Linked DNA regions of Homo sapiens: region 2 is linked to region 1. The links are contacts of gene promoters, found by promoter capture Hi-C in human tissues and cell types (Jung and others, 2019). All regions are on one chromosome and are shown on one strand. Each heading gives the region's core, a stretch centred on a gene start or on the middle of the fragment in contact. The rest is flanking DNA. Distances are from core to core; before and after follow the strand shown.

Region 1 (3,075 bases), core at 365-2,864:
ACTGCTTTTCCACTTTACAATCAATCAGGTTGGGTCAGGCAGGATTTCAAGGCTTCTGTCCTAGGTAGATGGGCTCTGTAAAGTCCCGCTTAAAAAAAAAGTGAAGGTAGGTTCAAGATCTGCACACAACTGGGGATGAGGGGAGTCTGATGCTCTGCTGTGTGATCATGCAAGGAACTGTTCCCAGTGCAAGTTATGTCGCTTTCAGGGACACTTTCTTCATCCAAATAAGAATGTCAACCACACTAAAACTAATGGATGTCTCTGAGTGGTGTGTGTGTGCGGGTGCGCATGTGCAAATGTATCTTAATATTTAACTGTCAGACAGCCAGAAATAAGCTCTCATCCTGTATCTCACGCTAGTGGGGAGGTCTAGAAAAGGCGGGGGGGCTTGGACTGCCGGATCCCACCCACGATTAATGTGCTGAAGCCCCCTTCTGTTATGATACTAAAGTAATTCAAATTGAAGAGAAAGGACCGTTGGGTATTATTGTGTCTCTTGGCCCTCCAATGTGAGCGATCCCCATGGGAATGGACGGGATGTCTCTGAAAAGGAGTAGTGATTCTCACACTCTGAGAAAGCAGTCTCTTAGGGAAGGGATGGTGTCTTTAGGTTTGGATATCACGTGTAAAAACTGGGTGTGGAAAAGAAGGGAGTGACACTTCTTAAAGGTATGTTTTATTTTGTTTGAGATGGAGTCTCGCTCTGCCACCCAGGCTGGAGTGCAGTGGCGCGATCTTGGCTCACTGCGCCTCCTGCGCCTCCTGGGTTCAAGCGATTCTCCTGCCTCAGCCTCCTGAGTAGCTGGGATTAGAGACGTGCACCACCACGCCCAGCTAATTTTTGTGTATTTTTAGTAGAGACGGGATTTCACCATGTTGCCCAGGCTGGTCTCAAACTCCCGAGCTCAGGTGATCCACCTGCCTCGGCCTTCCAAAGTGCTGGGATTACAGGCGTGAGCCACCACGCCCAGATAGCTCAAGGTTTTTTAAAAAACATCTGAATCTGCGTGCTTGCGCCGCTCCAGGTCTCCATCACTCCATATTCTTTCACTCCAAACTCCTTTAGACATTCCTGCCTGGCCTCCAAAAGCGTTTGGGTTTGCATCTCTGGATTTTTTTTTCAACTTCCTCATTTTACAGTTGAGAAAAACAGGAGGTAAAGAGAGGAAGGAATCTGCTTTAGGAAGCAGCTCTGGAAAGCAGAACACAGTTTCCTGCTCCCGCTCTCTCTCCACTACTCTCCCTTTAAAAAATATACTTTCTTCTATGGCCAATTAAACATTCATTACCAACCTGCGATTCCCTTAGGACTTTAAAAGGAGGGTTGTTCAGGGGTGACAACAATCTTCTGTCTGTTATACGTGTCCATGTAGGCAAAAACTTTCCCAAATTCAACCCCAGTCTAGGTCCCAAAAACTAACTACAGAGTGCAGGGAAACCAGACAGCTACAGTTCAGCCCAGGAACCTCCTCTCCTAGCTCACGTTTCTACCCGAGCCCGCGGAGGCACAGACCGGAAGTGGCGCGCAGCCTCCCAGCGGAGGGAACCGCCTATGCCTCCGTCGCGCTGGCCGGAAGACGGGGGTGCAACCCTTTGAAGTGTCCCCTCCTACTTCTTGCTGCCTCACGGTTGCTGTTGCAGACCCAGGAGTCTCTGAAGGCTTCCGCGGCTTTGGGGCCGGTTGTGAGATGCCAGGCAGAGGCCGCTGCCCGGACTGCGGCTCCACGGAGCTGGTGGAAGACTCGCACTATTCGCAGAGCCAGCTGGTGTGCTCCGACTGCGGCTGCGTGGTCACCGAGGGGGTCCTTACCACTACCTTCAGCGACGAGGGCAATCTCCGAGGTACTTGTGGCCCTGGGGACAGCCTGGGGCGGTGGAGGGATTAACATCAGATTCCTTTTGCCTCCCCGCTCCCCCCATACTCCTAACTGTAACGCACACACTTAATTTGAGAGAAAATGACCTAAAGTGAGCGAGGGAGCTGAAGGAGATGGGGGCTGCCATTCATCTGTGTTTTCCCAGCACTTAGTATCGGGCATAGATGGTGCGTGTAATAAATATTGAATAAGTGAGACAGAAACAAAAGTTCCACTCATCTTGCCATGTCTGGTCATTGTGGAAGGATTGCCGATACGATTATAGCAGGTATTATTACCCTGAAATAGTTTTAAGCACAAACTGGCAAAACATCACTTTTCTTTGCTTTCCAAGTTTCTGACCAGTGCAGCCCTCAAAATCTGCAGCCATTGTCTGGGTGGGGTGGCTTACGCCTGTAATCCCAGTGCTTTGGGAGGCAGAGCCGAGAGGATTGCTTGAGCCCAGGATCTCGAGACCAGCCTTGGTAACGTAACGAGACAAGTGCCTAAAAAAATTTTTTTTTAATTAGCCAGGTATGGTGGCATACACCTGTAATCCCAGCTACCCAGGAATCTGAGGTAGGAGGATTGCTTGAGCCTGGAAGTTGAAGGCTGCCGTGAGCTGTGATCGCACCACTGTGCTCCAGCCTGGACTATAGAGGGAAACTCCTTAAACAAACAACAACAAAATCTGCTGCTAGGAAAATTGCCTGTATGGAATGTACTGGAAGGATGACTGGAAATTTGGAACACTTGGAGCTGCTTTAATGCAGTCCTAACCTTTCCCAGTCTCTGTGTATTCGGAACCTCTTGTAGACATAGAAAACCAGATGGGGCCTTTAACTGTGCAGCAGCAGATGCTCAATGATTTGAATTTTGCGTCCTGGTTTTGTGTGGTGGGAGGGCAGGGGTCTGATGAATAAAGGCTAAGCACACTATTTGTTGTTTATTATCTTACAGAGGTAACATATTCCCGAAGCACAGGGGAAAACGAACAAGTTAGTCGCAGCCAGCAACGAGGTGAGAATTGACCTTTTACAACACAGTGGCTTTAAAGAAAACTATCCTAGGCCAGGTGCTGTGGCTCACGCCTGTAATCCCAGCACTTTGGGAGGCCTAGGCAGGTGGATCACCTGAGGTCAGGAGTTCAAGACCAGCCTGGCAAACATAGCGAAACCCCGTCTCTACTAAAAATACAAAAATTAGCTGGGCATGG
Region 2 (3,075 bases), core at 183-2,682, 230 kb before region 1:
TATACATAAATGTAAAAGACTGATCAACTGCCTTTGTTCTCACTTCTGTAAGTACGCTTCCTGCACCAGGTAGCTCTCAGCCACTGACTGCTTAAAAGGTGGCTGCTTTCTTTGCCGAGGCTCAGACTTTCCTGGATGCTAGTCCTACTGAGCCAGGTGATCACCTTAATAAAGGCTTTCCTGAACTCTGTTCGTCTTTCCCGTCTCTGATTGTCCCGCAACAGCAGAAAGGAAGACATTTATTTGCAGTGCACCAAGCAGGAAGGACCAGGTAGCTCGCTCTCAAATCCTGACTTCCCCAGTAGCTTGCAGGTAAGGGTTCTTAAAGGCAGGGGTAAAATTCGGGAAAGCAGAAGTTACAGGCAAAGTCATAAGTCAGTACATGAAGCTTACACATTGGTTTTGGCTTAAAAGAGTCGGGTATCTTGAAGGCGAGGAGGGTTCGGGGGAATGTAGGGGTGTTACAAGCAACAGGTAAATTCAAAGATTTTCTGATTTGCAATTGTTTAAGGGAGAAAAATTTGGGGTCAGAAGAAAAGAATGTTAGCTCAATGTTGTGACTGTGACTTGCTCTAGGCCCCTCAGGAAGAACTTTAGAATAAAGGACAGCTGTCAGAGTTCAGTCCTCAGTTTCTCCTTATCTGAGGTCTGTGTGCCAGCAGATCCATTGGGTGGGGGTCCAGTCTCTGAAAAACAGTTCAGGGACACGCGCTAAGATGTTATCTTCAGTTTACATAGGGAACCAAACATTTCCTGGCTCTAGCTTCCTTTGCTGTTGTTTTAGGCTACTATTACATTCTTGCTTATCACGTTGCTCGTTTATTTATCAAGGCTAGCTAGGTGCTTGGAATTTTCTTTGAGGGAACTCAAGATTTTCCTTTATTTCCACGCTTGGGAGGGACTTGGCAGGCCTCTAACAAGTAGGTGGGGGAGTGGAGAGGGAGGGTGCGGTCCCTGCTTTGTCTCTCAGCACTTTGGGAGGCCAAGTTAGGAGGATCACTTGGGCCCATGGGTTGGAGACCAGCCTGGGCAACATAGTGAGACCCCGACTCTACAAAAAATTTAAAAAATTAGCTGGACTGGGCGTGATGGTTCACGCCTGTAATCCCAGCACTTTGGGAGGCCAAGGCAGGTGGATCACTTGAGGTCAGGAGTTCAAGACCAGCCTAGACAACATGGTGAAACCCCGTCTCTGCTAAAAATACAAAAATTAGCCGGTCATGGTGGCGGGCGCCTGTAATCCCAGCTACTCAGGAGGCTGAGGCAGGGGAATTGCTTGAACCCGGGAGGTGGAGGTTGCAGTGAGCTGAGATCACACCACTGCACTCCAGCCTTGGTGACAGAGTGAGACTCTGTCTCAAAAAAAAAAGAAAAAAAATTAGCCGAGTGTGATGGTGCATGCCTGTAGCCTTAGTTATTCAGGAGGCCAAGGCAGGAGGATTGTTTGAGCCCAGGAGGTCAAGGTTGCAGTGAGATGTGTTCACGCCACTCAGCCTCCTAAGTAGCTGGGACTACAGGTGTGTGCCATCGCACTTGGCTAATTTTAAAATTTTTGTAGAGACAGGATTTACTATGTTGCCCAGGTTGGTCTTGAACTCATGGACTCAAGCGATCCTCCTGCCTTGGCCTGCCGAAGTGCTTGGATTACAGTCGTGAGCCACTGCTCCCAGCCTGTACTGACCACAGGGCCTTCAATACCCAAGGGAGAGAACTTGTATGAAAACAAGTTATGTCCCATCCCCGTACCAGGTAAGAAAATAAGTTTTATCTGATGCATGGGAGTCCTTTTAAATTATCAGGCCCAAAGAGGCATTAAAATGAAATAGCAATCACGTCCTACTTTCCCCCACCCCATTTTGAGCTATGTGTTCATCTCTTGAAATTGCTTGCTATTGCTAAAAGTAGCCATAAATTAACCTAACAGTGCTGCAACAGCCACTATAACCCACACCCTATAGCTTAACAATGTATATAGCCAATCAGCAGCTTATGTTATTTTGATGGAAATTCTTGGTAAACAACTCAGGAACTGCCTCTTCTTTCCCTTTAAAAATCCACTTGTGGACCAGCACGGTGGCTCACACCTGTAATCCCAGCACTTTGGGAGGCTGAGGTGGGTGGATCACCTGAGGTCAGGAGTTCAAGACCAGCCTGGCCAACATGGTGAAACCCCATCTTTACCAAAAATTCAAAAATTAGCCAGGTGTTGTGGTGGGCACCTGTAATCTCAGCTACTCGGGAGGTTGAGGCAGGAGAATCGCTTGAACCCAGGAGAAAGAGGTTGCAGTGAGCCGAGATTGAGCCATTGCACTCTAGCCTGGGCGACAAGAGCAAAACTCTGTTTCAAAAAACAAAAAAAAGTCCACTTGTGGCTGGGCATGGTGGCTCACGCTTGTAATCCTAGCACTTTGGGAGGCTGAGACAGGCAGATCACCTGAGGTTGGGAGTTCGAGACCAGCCTGACCAACATGGAGAAATCCTGTCTCTACTAAAAATACAAAATTAGCCAGGCATGGTGGTGCGTGTCTGTAGTCCCAGCTACTCAGGAGGCTGAGGCAGGAGAATTGCTTGAACCTGGGAGGTGGAGGTTGTGGTGAACTGAGATCACGCCATTGCACTCCAGCCTGGGTAACAAGAGCGAAACTCCCTCTCAAAAAATAAATAAATAAATAAATAAATAAATCCACTTGTAACTGCTGCTAATTGGAATGTATATTCAGGAAACTTAAATCTGTGCTCCCATGTTACAATCCTCAAGCTTGGTGCAAATAAACTCTCTACTTATATTAATTTAGCTTCAGTTTATTCCATTTAAATATTAATTTAGCTTCAGTTTTTCCTCCAACACAGCCTTTGTTGAAGGCCTCTAGGCTCTCTCCTAACAAAGAACAGTGGGTCAGATGCCCTGGACTCGACTCCAAGGACTCACTCTCTCCCCCACTACGATGCCCCCATGTTGTTATCATCAATTAAGCAAAACAAAGCTTTCTGTGTTTGTTAAAGTCATGATGAAGATAATTATGCGGTAGTTCATCTCAATGGAGCAGTCATTCAGTCTCTGCTGAAGCTTCTGGG

Evidence for each region. Contacts are between HindIII fragments. The study calls those that stand out against the background at their distance.
Region 2: a contact is called between a fragment that was not itself captured here and the fragment with the promoter of BRF2 in region 1, in 1 of the 25 tissues and cell types used here (spleen).

What each region holds. Positions count from the first base shown.
Region 1 is chr8:37,848,400-37,851,474 of GRCh38, reverse strand. BRF2 (BRF2 general transcription factor IIIB subunit) reads left to right here and starts at 1,614. Exons shown (of 4, transcript NM_018310.4): 1 at 1,614-1,845; 2 at 2,820-2,879. The coding sequence starts at 1,692. RefSeq lists enhancers at 1,409-1,758, 1,799-1,938. The HindIII fragment of the contact is 10,485 bases long and covers 1-3,075 here.
Region 2 is chr8:38,078,966-38,082,040 of GRCh38, reverse strand. No RefSeq gene overlaps it. Among named protein-coding and RNA genes, the nearest start is that of ASH2L, 25 kb to the left of the region's middle. The HindIII fragment of the contact is 3,188 bases long and covers 1-3,026 here.